Regions from separate parts of the Homo sapiens genome. Here all the other regions are linked to region 2. The links are contacts of gene promoters, found by promoter capture Hi-C in blood cells and fetal thymus (Javierre and others, 2016). All regions are on one chromosome and are shown on one strand. Each heading gives the region's core, a stretch centred on a gene start or on the middle of the fragment in contact. The rest is flanking DNA. Distances are from core to core; before and after follow the strand shown.

What was found. Contacts are between HindIII fragments. The CHiCAGO score rates a contact against its expected background, and 5 or more counts as called.
Region 1: a fragment that was not itself captured here is called in contact with the fragment with the promoter of MAP1LC3B2 in region 2 in 7 of 17 cell types (total B cells, monocytes, fetal thymus and 4 more); the score reaches 7.8 in total B cells.
Region 3: a contact is called between a fragment that was not itself captured here and the fragment with the promoter of MAP1LC3B2 in region 2, in 3 of 17 cell types (neutrophils, monocytes and naive B cells). The highest score is 6.5, in neutrophils.

Annotation. Positions count from the first base shown.
Region 1 is chr12:116,354,406-116,357,856 of GRCh38, forward strand. No RefSeq gene overlaps it. Among named protein-coding and RNA genes, the nearest start is that of MIR4472-2, 72 kb to the right of the region's middle. The HindIII fragment of the contact is 6,012 bases long and covers 1-3,451 here.
Region 2 is chr12:116,557,555-116,561,278 of GRCh38, forward strand. MAP1LC3B2 (microtubule associated protein 1 light chain 3 beta 2) reads left to right here and starts at 1,827. Exons shown (of 2, transcript NM_001085481.3): 1 at 1,827-1,879. RefSeq lists enhancers at 1,322-1,831, 1,671-2,010, 2,231-2,280, 2,321-2,420. The HindIII fragment of the contact is 18,876 bases long and covers 1-3,724 here.
Region 3 is chr12:116,384,739-116,388,548 of GRCh38, forward strand. No RefSeq gene overlaps it. Among named protein-coding and RNA genes, the nearest start is that of MIR4472-2, 42 kb to the right of the region's middle. The HindIII fragment of the contact is 6,952 bases long and covers 1-3,810 here.

The DNA.
Region 1 (3,451 bases), core at 619-3,118, 200 kb before region 2:
CTAGGTATCTTGGCTCCCACCCCTATATTAACCCCCGGACTGATTTATGATTCCACACCATTGGCTGTGATCTCATGGTTCCCTCCTGGACAATGGGTCACACCTCACTTCCTAACCCACAATCCTGTCACTGGGCTCTGCCTTTGCTCCTCGATGACGGTTCACGGCAATTTCTTTGAGTACATCACCCATAGCTGCTTTTGATTAACATTGGCCAAATCCAGGACCCTATATCCATGGCATCTTGTAGCCTTCTCTCTCCTGGGTCTATCTGACTTCAGGAAATAGAGCAGGATGTTCATACCGATGAATCAGCTTGGAACCTTAACACCAGGTTCCCCTGATCTCTCTTGGCAACTGTCATTCATCAAACATTGATTAAATACTAACTGCATGTCCAGCACTGTGCTGGGCACTAGAGATTAAATGGTGACCTGAACGTAAGCAGTCATTACACTGAACCCCACTGGAGAGACACACATGTAAACAGCAAGTGCAATGTAGCAAGTTAAAGCCAGAACAGAAGTACCTGAGCTCTATGAACCAGCACAGCACCTCCCAGCAAGGCAAAGTCAGAAACAGAATAAGGAAGATGAAATCGACGTCAGATGCCAAATGGTTTCCGACTAGAAGGCCTAGGGGATTGTTGTCCCTGAGTTTCCTCTCGGGAAACCAGACCTACTTCCTCCTCTGACTAGGGGGTCAGGGGTTGGCAGGGGTTTGTGGGGGAAGAGGCACTGATAGCCCAGGTCTTCCCCTGTCTTTACCAATCATAAGTGCCACACGAGCTGAGCTGATAATCAACTATGGACGGCCAGCCAGGCACTCTCCGCAGCTACCTCGGCACAGAGGAAGACCTTATCAAACCTCACCACTTGAAAGGAGAAGGATTGCTCCAAAGTGAATGCCCTGTTCCTACCGCACAGGAGAGTTGGAGGAATTACTGAACACACCATGACTGCAAAGTCTCACCCAAGATAATGTGGAAAGGACTTTCGAAGAACTCCCTGATTCTAAGAAAAAATTAGAAGGAAGCCGTCATCTCCATGGGATAAGGTGAAAAATCAAGACGCAGATAGCAAAGAGGTCCTGGAGCAAGGCAGCATCAGAGTCGAGAGGAAAGCAGATGACACGAATTAACATGAAGGTTCGTTCCCTTCTCCTCCCCCATCACTGCTCACAGCCCACACTCAGGGTATGATACCCAGAAAAATGACCTCACCCTTTTGGACTGTGGGAGAAGAGAAAATCTGAAAGACTTTGTCATTCTGTCCAAATGATAGAATTTATTTGTTCAAAGATATTACATATACTTTACAAACATTTTTTTAAAGAATTTATTTTGGCCAGGTGTGATGGCTCATGCCTGCAATTCCAGCACTTTGGGAGGCTGAGGCGGGCGGATCACCTGAGGTCAGGAGTTCAAGACCAGCCTGGCCAACATGGTGAAACCCCGTCTCTAATAAAAATACAAAATTCGCCGGTTGTGGTGGTGGGATCTGTAATCTCAGCTACTTGGGAGACTGAGGCAGGAGAATTTCTTGAACCCGGGAGGCGGAGGTTGCAGTGAGCCAAGATGGTACCATTGCACTCCAGCCTGGGTAACAGAGCGAGACTCCATCTCAAAAAAAAAAAAAAAAAAAAAAGAATGTATTTGGAAAGAATTATTTAATTACTATGAATTAATTATCCAAGTAATTAATTATTTAATTACTTGGACAAAAGTATAATAGCAAAGGAAGTAGTGTCAGGAGTGGTGGAGGGGTCATTTTAATGAATAGATGAGGCTTACTGGAGAAGAGAACATAATCATTTTATGAAAATGATGCCGAACGTCCTCAAGAAAGTGCTTTTCCTTCCTCTTCCTGTCTGATTGGGCTCCCCTGTACCATATACTCGCTTTCTGGAGGTGGCATTCCCTCAGAACACAAGCTGGACAAGGCACAAGGCAAGAGACAGGCTTATCCATCAAGGAAGGTCCAAGGCTGGTCACAGTGGCTCACGCCTGTAATCCTAGCACCTTGGGAGGCCAAGAGGGCCGATCACTTGAGCTAAGGATTTTGAGACCAGCCTGGCAACAGGGCGAGACCCCGCCTCTACAAAAAATACAAAAATTAGCCAGACGTGGTGTCACATGCCTGTAGTTCCAACTATTCGGGAGGCTGAGGTGGGAGGATTGATTGAGCCCAGCGGGTGGAGGCTGCAGTGAGTTGTGATTGTGCCACTGCACTTCAGCCTGGGCCATAGAGTGAGACTCTGTCTCCAAATAAATAAATGAAAGAAGGTCCAAAAATATGATCTTTATAATACTTGGTATGTTGTTTATTTCTTTGTCAAAATCTTTTGTGTTAGCCATGGTTCTCCTAGAAGCAGAGACTAAAAATAAATTTAAAGCAGAAAGGATTTATTAGAAGAAAGGTCTGTGGGAGAAGCAGGGAGGGAGACAGAGAAAGTGAGGAGGGCCACACAATCCCAAATGAAGGGGAGAGGAAAGGAAGTTGGGTGGGGGCCTGGAACAGTGGCTCACACCTGTAATCCCAGCACTTTGGGAGGCCGAGGTGAGTGGATCACTTGAGGCCAGGAGTTCGAGACCAGCCTGGCCAACATGGAGAAACCCCCGTCTCTACTAAAAATACAAAAATCGGCCAGGTGTGGTGGCACAGGTCTGTCATCCCAGCCACTCGGGAGGCTGAGGCAGGAGAATTGCTTGAACCTTGGAGGCAGAGGTTGCAGTGAGCTGAGATCATGCCACTGCACTCCAGCCTGGGTGTCAGAGTGAGACTGTCTTATAAAAAAGAAAGAGGGAAGGGAAGGGGAGGAGAGGGGAGGGGAGGCGAGGGGAGGGAAGGGAAGGGAAAGTTGGGTAGGATCTAGTTTATGATGGGTAAAAAAAATTTTTTTTTAAAAAGAAGAAATTTGGGTGGGAGTGTCCTGGACTCCCATGCAGTCTAAGGAAGGTTTGGGAAGGCCCTTGGAGAATTCTCAAGCTCAAGTCACCATTGGAGGAGCCCTGCACCTCCCATGAACAGGCTGCCTTAGTGTCTCTGACGTGCTCAGTTGCTGGCCGAGAGCTGCAGAATTGGGATAGCAGCGCCAGCGTCTGGGGCGCTTGGTCTATTATAGGCTGTATTACTCAGGGTTCTCCAGAGAAACAGAACCAATAGGAAATGTGTAGATATAGAGAAAGAGATTTATTATGGGGGATTGGCTCACACAATTATGAAGACTGAGAAGTTCCACAATCTGCCATCTGCAAGCTGAAGACCCAGGAAAACTGGTAGTATAGTTCCAGTCCAATGAAGCCCAGAGGCCTGAGAACCAGGGAAACCAATGGCATAGGTCCCAGTCTGAATCCTAAGTCCCCCAAACCAGGAGTGCTGATGCCTGAGGGCAAGAGAAGGTGATGTTCCAGCTCAAGCAGACAGCAAATTCATGCTTCCTAAACCTTTTT
Region 2 (3,724 bases), core at 577-3,076:
AACCACAGAAATTCCTCCCACCTTCTGCTCAGGCCAGTGGGAAACTTGTAAGACAGAGTCCCAGTCCATGTGAGTGGCGAGTGGGGGCATCTTGGGAGGGGCCTTCCAAAGGCAAAGCCAGGCTGGTTTGGTGGAGTCCTTTCCAGAACCCATCTGCTTGTGTAAAGCCTAGCAGAGGCCACCTTCAGCAGCCCTCCCGGATACTGGTTAAAGTGTTGTTATTGTTTGAGACAGGGTCTCACTCTGCCACCCATACTAGAGGGCAGTAGTACAATCTCGGCTCACTGCAACCTCCACCTCCCGGGTTCAAGCGATTCTCCTGCCTCAGCCTCCTGAGTAGCTGGGACTACAGGCATGTGCCACCGTGTCCCGCTAATTTTTGTATTTTTGGTAGAGATGAGGCTTCACCATGTTGGCCAGGCTGGTTTTGAACTCCTGATCTCAAGTAATCCACCCACCCTGGCCTCCCAAAGTACTGGGATTACAGGCATGAGCCACTGCACCCGGACTTAAAGTGGTTTTTAAAAAGTGCCGTGTGAGACTTCCAAATAGTACTCACGGGGAGGGAAATGAAAGGAGAGGATTGGGGAAGAAACACCTTCTATTTTTTTTTTTTTTTTTTTTTTTTAGAGACAGGGTCTTGCTCTGTCACCCAGGCTGCAGCCTGGACCTCTTGGGCTCAAGGGATCCTCCCACCTTAGCCTCCTGTGTAGCTGGGACCACAGGCGTGCACCGCCACACCCAGCTAATTTTTTTTATTTTTTTGCAGAGATGGGGTCTCTCTATGTTGCCCAGGCTGGCCTCAAACTCCTGGGCTCAAGTGATCCTCCCTTCTCGGCCTCCCAAAGTACTGGGATTACAGGGGTGAGCCACCTCACCTGTACAGCTTCTTTGGAGAATGGGCCTGGGCAGGTCAAACAGGGGCCACTCTACACCATCATGGCACAGCAAGAGCTGGGCTATGTAGGTTCAGTATTCTTTGTCATTTAATCCTTGTGACGACCTCGTGTCATCATTGCTGTTTTACAGATAAGGAACTGAGGCTCAGAGAGGTTCAGTGTCACAGCTAGCATTTCACTTACATATCACAGAGCAAAGGCTCTCTTTGTCCAGAGACAACGTGCCTTTAGGTGATAGAGCTAGGACTGGAACCCAAGTCTATCTGACTCAAAGTCCACACAGCTTGTCCCCCATCCCGCAGGGACCTCTCCACGCTAGTGAGCCCCACGAAACCCCCTCAGTGCTTCGTTCCAGTCTTTTACCTTCAAGCCCAGTCAGCGAGTTCTTTATTTCCACAAATGGTGCTATTAAACTAATGGCTTCGGGAGCTATAGGCTGGCCTCGGCACAGTTACACATCTCTCCACCCACCATGTTCTGGCTTCCAAATAAATACATTGGAAATTCCAGGAGCCGAAGCCCATTTGGAAACGTTTCCGGGCCACCATTTTGCTTTGGGATGGGCAAGAAGAGACACCCTAAACTTGAACTCCTGTCTGTGCAGCCTCCAGCCGGCCAGGCGCTAAATAAGGCCACGGCCCGTTTCCTCCTTCAAAAGTCCCTTGTAAAGGGCGATAGCAGACCCCATCAGGCAAAAAGCTGAGAAGCCAGGGTTGAAATAGAGGCCTCTTTCTGTTTGGTCAATCAGCAGCTGCAAAGGATGCGTAGGATGGAGCTAAATTTATTTGTTCCTTTCTTTCTCAGCAACAGCGACGAGGCCCGAGGTGCAGCTGTCTCGCCTCGCCTGTCTTTTGCAGGCACCGGCATGCACAGAAGATGGCTCTCCGGGAGGAAGATTCCTTTCCATTTTGTTCTCTCTCTGCCTCCGCAAGGCTCGCAGCCACCTCTCGGGAGTGCAGGGCCAGATCCTGTGCCAGCGGGTAGGAATATGTAGCTGCCTCCCAGCCCCAGGGTGGAAATCATGACCTTTGAGAAGCAGGCAAGCTGCACGGCATAGATACTCAGGCCTGGTGAAGGCAAAGTGGGGCCACACCCTAGAAAAACCACAAAAGTCCCCACAGCCTCTGCTTTCACTAGTCAGACCTGTGGGAAACTTGTAAGACACAGTCCATGTGATCGGCGGGTGGGGGCATGTTGGGAGGGGCCTTCCGAAGGCCACAGCCAGGCTGGCAGGGCAGAGTCCTTTCCAGAATTTATCTGTTTGCTTAAAGCCCAGCGGAGGGGCCACCTTCAGTCAACCCTCCAGCATACTGGTCCAAGTAGTTTTTTCAAAGTGCTTTGTGAGACTTTCAAAAGGTACCCATGGGGAGGGAAGTGAGAGGAGGAGGAGGGGACGGTGAAGAAACAGCTTCTTTATTTCTAGCCTTGCTTGAATGGCTTCTTGACGGTTACTGCTCCAGTTTTGCTGAGTCAGAAGAATCCCACAGCCGCTCACCGGAAACACAGCTGTTGGGCAAAAATAACCACAGAGCTGAGCATCATGCACCTTCCAGAAAAGATGGCAGAAAACCTCAAAACAAAAGAGAAATACAAAACAATAGGAGACACTGTCAAGAAAAAAAAAACAAAAACAAAAACCACCGCAGCTCACTAACCGATCCAAGCTGGTGGCGCTCTCCTGATCTCTCTCCACTCCCAGGCCCAGCAACGGCTCTGAAATAAAGCTAAGTTTGGCTATATATATATATATATATATATATATATATATATATATATATATATATATATGTATGTATATGTATATATATATATTTAGATAGAGTCTTCCTCTGTCGCCCAGGCTGGAATGCAGTGGCGCGCTCTCGGCTCGCTGCAACCTCTGCCTCCTGGGTTCAAGTGATTCTCCTGCCTCAGCCTTCCGACTAGCTGGGATTACAGGTGCGCCACCACGCCCAGCTAATTTTTGTATTTTTAGTAGAGACGAGGTTTCGCCATGTTGGCCAGGCTGGTCTCGAACTCCTGACCTCAAGTGATCCGCCCACCTCGGCCTCCCAAAGTCTTGGGATTACAGGTGTGAACCATCACATCTGGCCTACTTTTACACTGTAGTGGGTTTAATAGTGTCTCCCCAGTCACACCTCCACCAAAAAAAGAAAAGATATGTCCACAGTCTAATGTGCTGCAGCACCTGTGAATGTGACCTTAATGGAGAAAGGATCTTTGCAGGTGTAAATTAATTTTAGGATCTCAAGATTGAATCATCCTAGACTACCTGGGTGGACCTCAAATCCAATGACAGGTATCCTTATAAAAGGAAGGCAGATCCAGCTTGGGCAACATAGGGAGACCCTGTTTCTACAAATAGTTTAAAAAAAAAAAAAGGCTGGGCATAGTGGCTTACACCTCTAATCCCAGCACCTTGGGAGTCCAAGGTGGGCAGGTCACTTGAGGCCAGGAGTTCAAGACCAGCTTGCCCAATATGGCTTAACCCCATCTCTACTAAAACTACAAAAATTAGCTGGGCATGGTAGTGTATGCCTGTAGTCCCCGCTACTTGGGAGGCTGAGACACAAGAATCACTTGAATCCGGGAAGCAGAGGTTGCAGTGAGCTGAGATTGTGCCACTGTACTCCAGCTTGGGCAACAGAGCACGACTCCATCTCAGAAAAAAAGCTGTGGGGGACAGTGGTGTGTGCCTGTGGTCCCAGCTACTTGTGAGGCTGAGACAGGAGGATCTCTTGAGCCCAGAAGTTCGAGGCTGCAGTGAGCTATGATGGCACCACTGTACTCCAGCCTGGGTGACCAAGTGAGACCCTGTCTCAAAA
Region 3 (3,810 bases), core at 291-2,790, 170 kb before region 2:
CTCTGGTCACAGCTGACCAGAACATTCTTCCTGTCTGGGAGCTGCCCTGATCTTGCAGTGGGCAGTGAGCTACTACACCTGCCCTCTGGGAGGCTGAGTATTTACCTAGAGGCACTGCTGGGGCTGCCGGCCTGGGAGCAAAATTTAAGGAGGCACTTGTTCTCAGGGCCATGCATGATGTTCAGGGTCGTGACTTGCGTGAACCTGAGAATGAGCGCCTCCTTAAAAATTGCACCTGGTTTGCCTGGCCCTATTCCTGGCCCCACCCCAGGGGTAATTTATCAGAGGAACAGAGGGTATTTGGGGTCCATTGGCAGCTGGTAGGTGCAGAGTCACACAGACCTGGGCTTGAATACTGACTTCAGTCACTTAATAGCTGGGTGACCATGTATGGGTCTATTCTTTTACTTGAGCTCAGTTTTCTCATCTATAAAATGGGGATTATAGAATAAAACTGACCTCATAGGTGGTTGTGGGATTAAATGAAGAGTGTCCACATAAAGTACCCGGCACTCAGTAATGTTAGCTTATTATTATCTTTTTTTTTTTTTTGGCAGCTTAGAAAGAGGAAGTTCGTGGGTTGCAAAGTGAGTAATGGCTGCATCTGGGAGCTGATCAAAGGTGGCCAGCCAAGTTGAGTAGCCAGTTCGGTGTATGAGACTTAACAACACTGGTAATTTCTTTCTTTTCTTTTTCTTTTTCTTTTTTTTTTTTTTTTTTTTTTTGAGGCACTCTGTTGCCCAGGCTGGAGTGCGGTGGCGTGATCTTGGCTCACTGCAATGTCTGCCTCCCAGGTTCAAGCGATTCTCCTGCTTCCGCCTCCTAAGTAGCTGGAACTACAGGCACACGCCACCAGGCCCAGCTAATTTTTGTATTTTTTAGTACAGACAGAATTTCACCATGTTAGCCAGGCTGGTCTCGAACTCCTGACCTCAGGTGACCCACCCGCCTCAGCCTCCAAAGGTGCTGGGACTGCGCCTGGCCAACACTGGAAATTTCTTGTTTAAGAAAATTCCAAGCTCATACTGGGAGGGCGAGGCCAGGACATGAGGCTGCAGTGGACATCCATAGCTGCAGGGAGCCTCACTCGCTAGGCTCTTCCACATGTGTGAAGCCATCACATTCCTCTAGGCACCGCCCAGGACATCTCCTGCTGGAGGAGCGTTAGAGAGTGTCCCGGCTCCCCCTAGATCCACCTCTGACCATCTGATCTGGTTACTTCCTAACGTCCTGTTTGTTTTCCTCTAAACCAGAGAGAACGTTGAGCTGGGTCATTGGCGATAAGGGCAGGTTGGGTTGAGCAACCGAATCTGTTCCTTATCCAAGCAACAGATCTTTTCTAAAGTTCAGCTCTGGTCGGATCCACTGCCCACGAAGCGGTTCATACAGCCACCACCATCAGTTCATGATTCTCCACGCCAACAACAGCATGTGCTTCACTAGCCTCCACAAATGCTGACAGGTGAAGGCAGACTGTTCCTTGGAGCAGTTGACCTGGGTTTATTTTATTTTATTTTATTCATTTTATTTTATTTTATTTTATTGAGACAGAGCCTCAATCTGTTGCCCAGGCTGGAGTGCAGTGGCCGGATCTCAGCTCCCTGAAAACTCCGCCTCCAGGGTTCAAATGATTCTTGTGCCTCAGTCTCCTGAGTAGCTGAGATTACATGTACATGCCACCATGCCCATCTAATTTTTGTATTTTTAGTAGAGATGGGATTTCACCATGTTGGCCACGCTGGTCTTGAACTCCTGGCCTCAGGTGATCTGCCCGCCTCAGCCTCCCCAAGCGTTGGGATTACAGGCATGAACCATGGCACCCAGCCTTATTTTATTTTTTGAGATGGAGTCTCACTCTATTGCCCAGGTTGGAGCGCAGTGGCACAATCTTGGCTCACTGAAGCCTCCGCCTCCCGGGTTCAGGTGATTCTCTTTCCTCAGCCTCCCAAGTAGGTGCGGTTACAGGCATGTGCCACCACGCCTGGCTAATTTTTGTATGTTTAGTGGAGACGGGGTTTCACCATATTGGCCAGGCTGGTCTTGAACTCCTGACCTCAGGTGATTCGCTCACCTTGGCCTCCCAAGGAGCTGGGATTACAGGCATGAGCCACCACACCCGGCCCACTTGACCTGCTTTGACTTTTTAAGCCCATTGATTTGCTCTCCTGTCCCTTGTTCCCACCCTAGAGAGAGAGGCATGCATCCAATGTTCCTATTTCCGGACTTTTTTTTTTTTTTTTAAGGGCTGGGCTGCCATCTGCCCAAGTCAACACCCACCTAATTTTCCGGCGTAAACTGCAGCCCTCGTTTGCTTCCTCGAGCTTGGCCTGAACCCAGCACCTTAATCTGTACCTTGGCCAGGCTCCCAATGCAGATGCAATGTGTACGCTTCCCCATTAGCACAATTATCACATCACTAATGAGGGCTGCCACCATTTATTGAGCTGTTACTATATGCCAGGCTCTGTGCTAAAAGTTTTCCCCAGATCATCTCATTTAGAACTGGCATTAACCCGACGAGCAGATGATTATTTTATGAATGAGCACACTGAAGCAGAGAAATGGGAGTGCTTGACCAAGGTCACCCGTTTGGGGAAGCAGGGCGAGTACAGGTCAGTTCCACTGCACACTGCAGGCCCTGAACCTCCCAATCAACTATACTGTTCTTTAGTTACCTGCAAATTCATCCCCTCTACCGCTAAACCTGGCTCCCTATGTCTCCTAGGGTATTGGATTTTTGAGAACAGGAAGGCACAACTATTATTTTAAAGAAATTATATGAACTGGTGGGGCGTGGTGGCTCACTCCTGTAATCCCAGCACTTTGGGAGGCCAAGCTGGGAGGATCACGTCAGCCTAGGAGTTCAAGACCAGCCTGGGTAACATAGGGAGACCTTGTCTCTACAAAAGAATTAAAAAGATAGCCAGGCGTGGTAGCATGCACCTGTAATTCCAGCTCCTCATGAGGTGGGAGGATCACTTCAGCCTGGGAAGTTGAGGTTGCAGTGAGCCATGATCACACCACTGCACTCCAGCCTGGGTGACAGAGCAAGACCCTGTCTCAAAAAAGAGGAAAAGAAAAGAAAAGAAAAGAAATTGTATGGGCTGGGCGTGGTGACTCACGCCTGTAATCCCAGCACTTTGGGAGGCCGAGGTGGGCGGATCACTGGAGGCCAGGAGTTGGAGATCAGCCTGGCCAACATGATGAAACTCCGTCAATACAAAAAATACAAAAATTAGCTGGGTGTGGTGGTGTGTGTCTGTAATCCCAGCTACTCGGGAGGCTGAGGCAGGAGAATCGCTTGAACCTGGGAGACAGAGGTTGCAGTGAGCAAAATGGTGCCACTGCACTCCAGCCTGGACAACAGAGTGAGACTGTCTCGAAAAAAAATAAAAAATTATATAAACTTACAATTAAATAGATACATTGAATTGAAAGATAAAAGTAATAACACTAAAACTCCTCACTTCTTAATTTACTATGTTCTCCCATTACCTATGCTCTTAAGATTATGATATCTGTTTGGTGAAAATTCTCTACAGTGTCTGCTCCTGTGCCTGTCTTCCCAACTCTGTGTTCAGTGACCTCCCCTTGGGAGTTTGAGATTGACTTTGGTGGGAGTATTTACACCATAGAAATGGGCAAATGCTATATACCAGGGTTTTCCTCCAGAGAACTAGTTATTAAACATTGACCAGCACCACTGATCACAACATTTGTGGTAGGTATTATAAGCCCTTTTAACACAGAAGCGACTGAGGCTTAGGAATGCTAAGTGATTTGGCCGAGATCAATGGCTAGGCAGTGGTG